Regions from separate parts of the Homo sapiens genome. Here region 1 is linked to region 2. The links are contacts of gene promoters, found by promoter capture Hi-C in blood cells and fetal thymus (Javierre and others, 2016). All regions are on one chromosome and are shown on one strand. Each heading gives the region's core, a stretch centred on a gene start or on the middle of the fragment in contact. The rest is flanking DNA. Distances are from core to core; before and after follow the strand shown.

The links. The method cuts DNA at HindIII sites, captures the fragments that hold promoters and counts their contacts. A CHiCAGO score of 5 or more calls a contact.
Region 1: a fragment that was not itself captured here is called in contact with the fragment with the promoter of POU4F3 in region 2 in 1 of 17 cell types (megakaryocytes); the score reaches 5.2 in megakaryocytes.

What each region holds. Positions count from the first base shown.
Region 1 is chr5:146,411,134-146,417,281 of GRCh38, reverse strand. No RefSeq gene overlaps it. Among named protein-coding and RNA genes, the nearest start is that of TCERG1, 33 kb to the left of the region's middle. The HindIII fragment of the contact is 1,498 bases long and covers 1,763-3,260 here.
Region 2 is chr5:146,337,000-146,342,716 of GRCh38, reverse strand. It overlaps POU4F3 (POU class 4 homeobox 3), which reads right to left and starts at 3,878. Exons shown (of 2, transcript NM_002700.3): 1 at 3,485-3,878; 2 at 989-3,169. The coding sequence starts at 3,604. The coding sequence ends at 2,273. It overlaps RBM27-POU4F3 (RBM27-POU4F3 readthrough), which reads right to left. Exons shown (of 20, transcript NM_001414499.1): 19 at 3,485-3,614; 20 at 989-3,169. The coding sequence ends at 3,159. RefSeq lists a silencer at 1,894-2,094. The HindIII fragment of the contact is 1,348 bases long and covers 3,149-4,496 here.

The DNA.
Region 1 (6,148 bases), core at 1,262-3,761, 76 kb before region 2:
ATTTCTAACACTTATAAATTACCTATATTAAAAAAATAAATAAATAAATTAGCTGTATTGACCAAATGCAGTCATGAATTTAGACATAGTGAAAACCAAGTAACCTATCCAAGGATATTTGCTGTAGGATTTTTATGACAAAAATTTAAAGAAAAAAAATAACCAAATGCCAATCAGAAAGGAATTGGCTTAAAAAATAGTGTAATCAGACCTGGCGCAATGGCTCATGCCTGTAACCCTGGCACTTTGGGAGGCCCAGGTGGGCAGATCACCTGAGGTCAGGAGTTCAAGGCCAGTCTTGCCAACATGGCAAAACCCCATCTCTACTAAAAATACAAAAATTAACCAGGCATGATGGCGCACGCCTATAATCCCAGCTACTCGGGAGGCTGAGGCGGGAAAATCACTTGAACCCTGGAGACAGAGGTTGCAGTGAACTGAGATCACACCACTGCACTCCAGCCTGGGCAACAGAGTGAGACTCCATCTCAGAAAAAAAAAAAAAAGTGTAATCTATAGTTATGAATAAGATAAAGTTAATAAATTGTGTGTAACAACACTGGAAACAGTGCATAATATACCATTAAATGGAGAAAGAAGCTTCCCAAAGTTTTCATATTATGATCTCATTTATATATAAATTTTATATAAAATATGTGTGTGTCCAGCCTGGCCAATATGGTGAATCCCTGTGTTTACTAAAATTAGCCAGGTGTGGTGACACACACCTGTAATCCCAGCTACTCGGGAGGCTGAGCCACAAGAATCGATTGAACCCGGGATGGGGAGGTTGCAGTGAGCCAAGATTGCACCACTGCGCTCCAGCCTGGGTGATAGAGTGAGACTCTGTCTCAAAAAAAAAAAAAAAATGTGTGTGTGTGTGTGTGTGTGTATGTGTGTTAGTATTTTTTAAAGTCTAGAAAAATAAACAACAAACTGGTTACATGGTAATTTACTCAAGTACTTGTAGGGAGAACCTATTTCTATTTTATACGTGTGGGTTGTATATATAAGTAGTGTTGGATTATTTTTACTGTACTCAGGACAGCCCTAGATCTGGTAAGGAGGAACCCCTACCTCAGATCTCATGTTTAGAAAAGACACATAAAAAGACAAATGTATTAAAGAATATATGAAATCAGGTGACCATTGCAGATACCCTAAACAATCACTTTGGTGACTAACACCATTCAGGCCATGGAAAATGCTCCTCGGTCCTGGAAACACAAGCTGACCACCCAAATGTTGTGAAGAATCACAGGTTGTGCTGCTGCCAGCATCACAAAAGGACACTGCTGAGGAATGTGTGTGCAAGGAGAATTTAAGCTGTGGAAGCATTTAGGTAAAAGACAAATTAATATACTTGTCAAATCTTTCTTCTCAGGTGTCATGAATGCTATAGATTCTTAGAAAATAACACAGCATATCCCGGGGTAACAAGCATCCATTTTCTTGCTTTCTTCAAGTTCCAGTTTGTGGGTAAGTACTCACAAATTACTGCAGTGTTTGCAGCAGTTACACATAGCAGCTAAAGAATCTTTTGCAATTTAAAAAATACTACTTTTAATTTTTTATACATTGTCTAGACATAGCATGCTTGAAGCATGAAACATTGAATATAAAAATTGCGGATAACTTAATGTTTATGAAAATATGTAATGAGTAAACTAAATTTAAAACTAAGTAAAAATTAAGCTTCATTTGAAATTTTTATTTAAATATTAGTATTCATTAATTACCATTTGTATTTTACCCTTAAGCTTCAATCAATAATTTTGGATATTTTAGCAGAAGAAAAATAACTTTTTTGACAAAATAGGAAATGTTTTTAATTTTTTAGTATTTTAGCATTTACTTTAATTACATTTTTGATGAAATATATTCGAATTTGGAACCCTTTGAATATGATTACATTTTATCTTAAATCTTTTTTTTTTTTAATTATACTTTAAGTTTTAGGGCACATGTGCACAACGTGCAGGTTTGTTACCTATGTATACATGTGCCATGTTGGTGTGCTGCACCCATTAACTCATCATTTAACATTAGGTATATCTCCTAATGCTATCCCTCCCCACTCCCCCCACCCCACAACAGACCCCGGTGTGTGATGTTCCCCTTCCTGTGTCCATGTGTTCTCATTGTTCAATTCCCACCTACGAGTGAGAACATGCGGTGTTTGGTTTTTTGTCCTTGTGATAGTTTGCTGAGAATGATGGTTTCCAGCTTCATCCATGTCCCTACAAAGGACATGAACTCATCATTTTTTATGGCTGCTTATCTTAATTCTTTAGCTGACCAAGAATGAGAACAAGTTAAGATTGTGCTAGACCTACAAAATATGAAAGTGAAGCTCAGAAAAATAAGGATAGAAAAGAAAAACAAACATATTCACCAAGGTGGTCAGCTGTAATTTGTTTAAATTGCGAACTCCTGAGCATGGCCCACATACAATTCATAAACAAACATTACAAATTCCCTGTTCAGTGAAGATTTAGTTACTGAGCAAAACAATGAAAATAAGAAAAGTATTCTGAGTAAGTCCACAACTTGAATAGATCAGATCAAACACCTGTAACTTCATGTTCTTTACATGAAGTTTCTTTCATGATTAAAATAAGACAATGAAAAAGATATTTTTATATCAAATTCACAACTCAAAAGAAACGAGTGCAAGTGGGTCTGCCCATTAGATGATAAAGAAATTATGGGGAAATTGGCAAATTTGACAAGAAAGATTAAAAACTTTTTGCTTCTTTACTGTTTATTGGAAGGTGATCCTAGAAAAGTTTGTCACAGCTTTCTGAAATCTGAGAACATTTCCAGAAAAATGTAAGTTGATTTAAATTATTGGTTATAAATTTTTCCTTGAATAAACTTGGCAGAAAAGTTAATATTTTGTATTATTGTAAGTTTTTTTCCCAATGGAGAAACTGTAGAAACTTTTTTAATATTCTAAGTCAAAAGACAAAATATTTTGTTACTATTATTACATATTTCAGTCTGTCTTCACAGTCAGCTTTGTCCAGTGAAAGAATCTGTGACTGGAAATACTTAGGTTCTCAATTAAAAGAATACAAAATGTTATTTGACCCCGACCCCAAAAAATGCACACGCAAATACTAGAATGGAAAAAAAAAAGCCTGAAACAACACAAATGATTAACAGTATTCAACAAATAAACAAGCAAATACAAATATACAATATCGCTGTGATATTCTTAAGAAAACAGTATTAGATGTGCCATACTTAGGCAAGCTTGTGTGGAACAGCAACAGTGCGATATTCATAGAAAACAATGGAAATGTTCTAGTCTAGTAGAAAAAATAACTTTCAAATGTGATGCCAAAATAGCCAAGCATATAACATAGATAAAAATGAATTTTAGGCCCAGCGCAGTGGCTCAGGCCTGTAATCCCAGCACTTTGGGAGGCCATGGCGAGCGGAAGACCTGAGGTCAGGAGCTCGAGACCAGCCTGGCCAACATGGCAAAACCCCGTCTCCACTAAAAATACAAAAAAATTAGCTGGGCATGGTGGCATGCACCTGTAGTCCCAGCTACTAGGGAGGCTGAGGCAGGAGGATTGCTTGAACCTGGGAAGCAGAGGTTGCAGTGAGCCGAGACTGAGCCACTGCACTACAACCTGGGCAACAGAGCTCTCGAGACCCTGTCTCAAAAAAAAACAAAATTGAATTTTAAAAGATCATATTTCTTTAAATGGAGAATTCAAAATACTATTAAATGTGATAAAAGATATTAGAGATACAATTTTTAAATTAATAGTAACTAATTTACGTAAATTATGTTAGGACAAAATCATATTGAGCAACTAATATTTATCTTCTGATGTACCATCATCTGATGATGGTGGGCAGGCCACACTTGCATCTGATAGTTCATCAGATGATAAAAATTGAAGTCAAAATTGTGTATGTTATTGATTTTATACCTATTGTAAAAAGTAGAATTGAAAATACAATTTTGAATTTTAGACATTGATTTAAAAGAATAATGATGGCAAGCTAATGATAATGGCAGTTGGTAAGGAACAAGCATTTATTATGAGGCATGTGTGATACATAGTTTGAATTTCTTATTAAGGGACATGTTCTCAGCTGTGTCAAATGGGTGATTGCATCTTCAGAACAATTAAACAACTACATAGGATATTTTCTGTATCTGTCCAAAGATGAAACAACTTGAAAAAGCTGTTATATGTTTGTCACTAAAACACTTTTGGACACACAAAGGGAATGCTGACTAAAAGCTATTAAAACAACAAAATTTTATTTACACCAGATAACAAGATGCACTGGAAGAGTATGAGAAATAAAAGATAATCCTTAAATAAAAAGAATCATGGCCGGGTACGGTGGCTCACACCTGTAATCCCAGCACTTTGGGAGGCCGAGGCGGGCGGATCACGAGGTCAGGAGTTTGAGACCAGCCTGGCCAGTATGGTGACACCCCGTCGCTACTAAAAATACAAAAATTAGCCGGGTGTGGTGGTGGGCGCCTGTAGTTCCAGCTACTCGGAAGCCTGAAGCAGGCGACTCGCTTGAACCTGGGAGGCAGAGGTTGCAGTGAGCCGAGATCGTGCCACTGCACTCCAGCCTGGGTGACACGGCAAGACTCCATCTCAAAAAAAAAAAAAAAAAAAAAAAAAAAAAGGATCATGATCTTTTTTTAGAATTTTAATTTTAGGTTTGAGCATACATGTGAAGGTTTGTTACATAGATAAACGTGTCACAGGGGTTGGTTGTACATATTACTACATCACCCAGATATTAAGCTCGGCACCCAACAGTTATCTTTTCTGCCCCTTCCCCTCCCCACTCCCCCCACCCCCAAGTAGACCCCAGTGCCTGTTGTTTCCTTCTTTGTGTTCATGAGTTCTCATCATTTAGTTCCGACTTATAAGTGAGAACATGTGGTATTTGGTTTTCTGTTCCTGCATTACTTTGCTAAGGAAGGAATCATGATCTTTGGCAGAAAATTATTTCTGAATCTGCACTATCTATGGTTATTTGGTAGAAACTGTTGTTTTTAATGATGTTAGCAAAAGCTTGCAGAAATTCTAAAAACTGGAACCAAATAATGAGTTTGGCTGTTTTGCCTTTTTACGATTAAATTTTTTTATAGAGAGAAAATAGTTACTCTAAATTGAAATAAACTGCATGTAAAATATGTAACAAATGTGACATTTCTATAAAATATGAGAAAATCAGAACAAGTAAACAAAAATGTTTGCATCACTATAAAAGAGAATATGCACATACAAATAATCCCCAAACTAATATCTGTTGAGATCACTTTAGGTTTATTAAAAATAAAAAAAAACTTACCAAAATATTTTCTGGATCTGGATATTGTTTTTAGAGAAGGTAAAAATTGCAATGTAAGTGATAGATTTATATTATGAAATTAAAATTTTTTGTAGTATTTTCTATCGTAACAACAATTTAAGACCCCATGATAGTATTTGAACTTTATATGTAAAATCCATTGCCAATTTCTGAATGTAAATGTTACAATAACTTTGACAATTTCAGTTGCTATTGACTTAACAGCAAGTTTTCTCCATGATGAAATTAATTTAAAAATAAGAATACAATGGCTAAGAAAGGGTGTTGAATTTGGCATTACTATCTTTGAACATAAATTATGTAAAAATCCTGATTGGAAGAACGTAACTGTAATTTTGCTAAAATGAAGACAAGAAAAAATAATTTTTATATAGCAAATATATAGTCATGTATGAATTATGTATGCCTTTGTTATTACGCATCCAAACATCAGCCAAACAACAGAACTGCCAGTTATGTACAGAAAATTAAAGATCAGTCAACTTTAAAATTTGCTGATATTCAGTCATATGAAAAATAGTTCTCAACTTTGTTTCAAAAGTAGAAGGATACACCACATTTTTTTTTAACAGTCTGTTGGCTTGTTTGTTAACAAAAAAGTTAACAAACTCTAGGCCCACAAATTTAGGGGTAGGTCTGACTGAGCATATGTTAATTTTATAATTAGTGCTTGTAAGAACTGCTGTTTAGTTAATGTTTATTATATGTTGGGCACTGAGCAAAGTACTTTTTATACAGTAGCTCACGGCACCTGTATGAGTTAATTTCTCATACTGAGCTA
Region 2 (5,717 bases), core at 2,629-5,128:
GCGGGGGTAAAGGGCTGAGGCCCAGGGAGCTGGGGGAGATCCGCAAGTTAGCTTATGCGGTAGGGGGTGTCGCACTGCGCGGAGGGCAAACCCACTCTGCTCCGAATTTCGGCCCCGTGGTTTGATGACCCGCAACTCTTTGAGGACGAAGCAGGGAAATGTGCAGATGACTCCTGGACTTGGAGCATTAAATTTTAAATCAGGAAGGCGTTTCTACAGCTCGCAAATAAAAAGAGGGAGCGTAAAGAGAACAGGGAGCTGGCGTCTATGGAGCACCTACTATGTACAGGGCACTATGCTAGGCGCTTTGCAGCAGTTATAGCAGTACCCCCACAAAGAAGCCGAGGTGGACCCCAGAGTGAATAACAACCTGGATGAGAATTTCAGATGAATTTGGAACTCTGAGTGGGTCCCACTAGAGTGTCCCAGCGAACACTTTTCTCCCTCTTTGCCTCTATTATTTCACCTCCTTTCAAGCCCTTTGAATCTTTTAAAATAATTTGTTGCCTACAAAACCCAAGCACTAGTTGACGTCTTAAATAAACAATCTCACCTAGTCCTGACAATAACCTTGTGAAATAAGCGTTGGTCCCTTCATTCTGCAGACAAGCAATCTTGTTGGAGAAGGCTTAGAGAAATTAAGAAATTAGCCTCAGGATGGTTCTGCCAGTGAGCAGAGGCATTGGAGGCTCGAATTTCTATTAGTCCGGCTTCAAAGTTTACTAGCTAAGTCAAATTGAGCAGAGTCTCATGATGGCAGGCAGGGAAGCATGGAAGGAAGTGCCTTGAAACCTCAAGTTCAGACACAAGCCGCAGGGTCTCCCACGAGGAGCTCCAAGTGAGTCTGCCATGGAAGAGGAGTGGGGAGAAGGGATGGCTGGGGGCTGGGCAGCAGAAACTGACAGCCCAACCCTTTGGGGTTCTCCTTTTTAAATCCTTTTCAAAGCTAGTACCCCTTAGCCTCTGAGAAAAAATAAAACCACTTTGATTCGGGTTGAAAAATAAAGCATTTATTTTAGAAGTTAATTCAAGGGGTAAAGGGAAAAGAAAACTTAATATTTTATTTGTATCTATTCAGAGAATGAAACCAAAGGTCACACAGCAACACACAAACTACATGAAACAACGAAAAAATAAAATAAAATTTGGGCTAGAGGGGCAGGGTGAGAAGGGTTCAGGCCCATGGTCCCACTCCTCTTCCCTCACAAAACTATAAGTGAACTTCCACCGAAAGACACCCACATAAAGGGAATGGAAAGAAGCAGAATTAAATAAATAATAGTAATGAACGATGTTAACAACAACAGTAATAACAAAAGTGCAAGGAGGTTAGACGTGTTGAAAGGACTTGCATATAATGCAGAGAAGTTACAGTCGTTTTCCAGCAGCCGACTGCACGCTGAGCTGGCAATCTGGCAAGAGCAGCGAGCTGGGGTCAGAGAGTCCTCAACGGTTATGAATACTACAAACTCCCGCTCTCCAGCAAGCAGTAATTACCCCTCAAACACCAGTAGGTAGTGAAAGATGGCCAGAGCTGGTGCTGGCAGCTGATTACAAACAGCCAAGCGATCCCAGAATTTTCAGTCGCCAGACTGGGCCCACCTGTTTTGGAGCCCTACTTACCACGAAAAAATGGCAACTTGGAGCCCGCAACTCCCTGCATACTTTCCCTGAACCTAATCTTCATGCTACCTTATGAGAATTTACGCCAAACCAAAGGATAAGGTGAATAGAATTTAGGCAAGGAAGGGAGTATAAGGCTATCCTTTGGAAACATACATGTATTTTATATACTCTAATAAATCTCCAGTGCATGTTTGTGTCCCCCTTAGATATCCTAGACTTTGTGTTATTATTGATCACTTCCTTTTTATCCCTTCACCCTTTGCCTAATCGCGCTTAGCAAAGTGGCATTTTCACCCTAGCTTCGGGCGGTTGGGCCAATTGACTGTCCTCTGCTTTGGGGCTCCTGCTCTGAAGTCGTGCGGCCCCTGCGCGAGGGCAAATTTCAGCACCACGGACAGCACAAGTACACTCAGGCCCGCCCTTCTGCAATATTTTCCCAGCGCCAAAATTTTTTTGGTGGGAATAGAAAGGAAAGAGAGAGAAGGCCGGAGGCAACCAGGCGGGACAAAGGGGGAAAGTCTGTGGCTTCGGAGGAGAGAGCCTAACCTGCCTAGGAAACGCCTTGGAGTTCCCGATAACCATCCCCCGAACCCGGGAGGGATGAGCACTAGGCTCTCCCGGCTCCCGACGCTGCGCCCTGCCGCAATCAGTGGACAGCCGAATACTTCATTCGTTTCTGTTTCTGTCTCTGGTTGCAGAACCAGACTCTCACCACGTTCTTTTTAAGGTCCAGTTTCTCAGCGATGGCCGCGATCTTCTCAGATGAAGGACGTGGCTGGATAGCGAAATAGGCCTCGAGTGAACGCTTCTCCGGCGCCGCGATGGACGTGCGTTTGCGCTTCCGTTCGCTGCCGTTGAAGAGCTCTGGCTTGCTGTTCTTCTCTCGGTAGGCGGCCTCGGCCTCCTCCAACCAGGCCTGGAGCACCGGCTTGAGAGCGATCATGTTGTTGTGCGAGAGAGTGAGAGACTCGAACCTGCAGATGGTGCTTTGGCTCAGCGAGCCCACGCCGGGGATCTTGAGATTAGCCAGAGCCGCGCCCACGTCCGCCTGGGTCACCCCCAGCTTGATGCGCCGCTGCTTGAAGCGCTCGGCGAAGGCTTCCAGCTCGCGCGGGTCTGACTCCACGTCGCTGAGGCATGCAGGCATGGCGCTATGAGGGGCCACGGTGTGCGGGTGACTCATGCCCATGGCCTGGTGCAGGTGGCCCATGGCGCCCAGGTGGTGTGGATGGATCTGTGCGGGCATCACCGAGTGTTCCGGAGCGCCCAGGCCGCTCACACTCAGCGTGGGCGAGATGTGCTCCAGCAGGTCGCCTTCGAGGCCCTGGTGCACGGCGTGGTGAGGGTGTGAGGTGAGCGCAGCTGGGTGGGAGATGGGCACGGTGGACGAAGTGGACGTGCAGGGCACGCTGCTCATGGTATGGTAGGTGGCGTCGGGCTTGAACGGATGGTTCTTGCCGTGGGAGACGATATCCACCGCCGCCAGAGCTTCGGCGCGTGCCAGCAGGCTCTCATCAAAGCTTCCAAATATATTACCCTGCAGCTGCAAGCGAGAAGGCGCACAGCACGGTCAGTAGGGAATACTGTCAACACAGGATTAAAACACATTTTCAAGCAACCGAGATGCCTCTCCTCAAAGCCCAGGTCATAAAAATTAATACGGAGGCAGCGGCTCTGCTGGAACAGACGTGTGGATCAGAGACATGAATGAGAGAGAGAGCGCGCCGGGAGAGAACGCGGGGGAGACAAGGAGAGGGGTTCAGACAGCGGCGATTGTTCTGGGCGACATGAAAAAAACATGAAGCTAGTGCCTGTCAAAAAATGTGCCTTAGAGCGGTAATTATGCTCCACTACGTACCTGCGGGGCTGGGAGACAGACTCGGCGCATGGCCTCGGAGCCAGAGTGCAGACTGGAGAATTTGGGTTCTTGCAGCACCGGGTGCATGCCGAAAGGCTGCTTGGAGTTCATGGCCATCATCTTCGCGCTCCTGGCAGGGTGGCAGCGGGTGACATGGAATCAGGCTTGTCTAGCTTGCTTGCCGCTCTCCAAGTGAGCGCTGCTCAGCGCCCGCGCTCCCCTCGCCCTCTCGCTCGCTGCCTCCCCTCTCCCCCACCTGCTTCTTCACTCATCTTACAAGCAGCCTGCCAGGAAGGGCCCGGGCGCGCGCAGGCGTGCTCACGCGCCGGGGACTCGCAGGGGCGGCCCGGGAGGTGAGGAGAGACAGCAGCTAGCGGCGCGCCTTTCTGCGCCCGCGGCGGCCGCCCCCTCCACAGCCTTTATACCCGGGCCTGGCCTGGCCTCTCCCAGTCCGCCCCGCCCCGCTGGCTCCAACCCGCCAGACCTTTCCGATTCTTTCTTCTTCGTGGACTTCCCTTCCCCCATGCCACCCCAAAAGTCCCAACCTCTCCGTCCTGTCCCAGCTCGAACTGCCTGGATAAAAGGGTAGCCCTGGGCTGAGCTGGGGCAGGAAGTTGACCCTACTCCAACTTCCCCTCTCCACCACACACACACACACACACACACACACACACACACACACACACTCCGTCGGCCCGGCTGCCGCCAAACTGCCCATTTCCAGGGCGCTCCTGGCCTCACGCCCAAGCTGTCCACCAGAGTCCGGTCCCGCGGCGCAGCGAGGAGGCGCCTCCAAGCGCCCAGACGGGCCCTGGAGAGGGTGAGGGGCTGCCAGAACGAGGCCCAGGTGACCCCTGCCCCACCTCCCTCAACCGCGCTCCGGGGTAGAGGTAGGGGCAGTAACTGCCTTCTCAGTCCGGGGTGGCTTCCTCCCCACGCTTGCCTTTCTTTCTTTCATTTGAGGGATGTAACTTGGCCCACTCTTCCTCCAACCCTCCCGTCTAAGGAAGCTTGTGGAGTATTTTTTTTAGAATAGCGACTGTTCAGGATGGCCCTCCAGGCCTGGGAGTCCTTCAGTGCATTTCTGCTGGGCAGCCAGAGCTTGCAAGCCCATTCCTCGTGACAACAGCTACCGTTTAAGAGTTCCTAATATGTGCTAGACAATTTAGAGTTTGCCCATGGGATTCTCATACCCACCGTATGGAGTAGGTGATGTTATCCCGTTTTACAGATGAGGAAAACAAGGATCAGAGGGGCTAATGATTAGCCCATTCACTCACTCACCCAGTTATCCATCCATCTTACAAATATTTACTGACGGCCTGCTGCTTCCCAGGCGCCTTAGCCTCTTGGTCTTCCTTCTCAAAGTTTCGGAACTTGAGGGCTCTCGAGGTTAGCACTGCCCGCCTCCACCTCCCCTAGCCTCTTTTTCTCTCTACTTCCCTCTTCTTTCCTCTCCCTTGCCCCGCTCTAGTAAACATCGTGAATAATGGATGGGGAATCCTGGACCTCGACTACGCTGCACTCCGGTTCGGAGAGAAACCCCGCGCGTGCAGCTGTACCCCCTCGTCAGGGCCACTGCCTCCGCTGAGAGAGCGATCTTCGGGGCTTAGAGACCTCACCCTGCCTGTTATTGTGCAGGGTATGTGCGTGCCGGGTTTCCCAGAATCTGAACGAGGTGGGGTGGTGTGGTTTAGGGGAACATCCCTTAGTCCAAGAGGACGCCCTGACAGATCCGGGCTCCCTCTTCCCCTCGGCGCCCTCCAGTTGCTTTTCTCCCCATCCGAGCCAGCCCCCTCCGCTGGTTCCCGCCCTGCGATGGTGGGAAAAAGACTCAGCCCAGGTGCCTAGAGCCAAGCGCAACCCTTTCGCTAAAGCCCTCTGAGCCTCGGTTTCGGCGGCTCTTAAATGGAATTGCACTACTGTCTGCCTCCTTGGATTCTGGTGAAGACGTTCAGAGTTAGGGTAAGAAGAAAAGCATTGAGCCACGAAATTGGTGCTCAGTAAACTCCCTCACAACCTGGTGCCATAGCGCTCAGGCCCTGGCCTCAGATTCAAAATGCGCCTCTGCCTCTTGCTGGCTGAGACCACGAGATATTCTCAACTTCTCTGTACTGCGGTGTCCCCATCTGTAAAATGGGGGTGATCATTTATTTCCCATTGATTGTTGTGAGGAATGCACTGGGATAAGCACATGGCACAGTGCCTGGCGCATTGATATCATTGAATACAT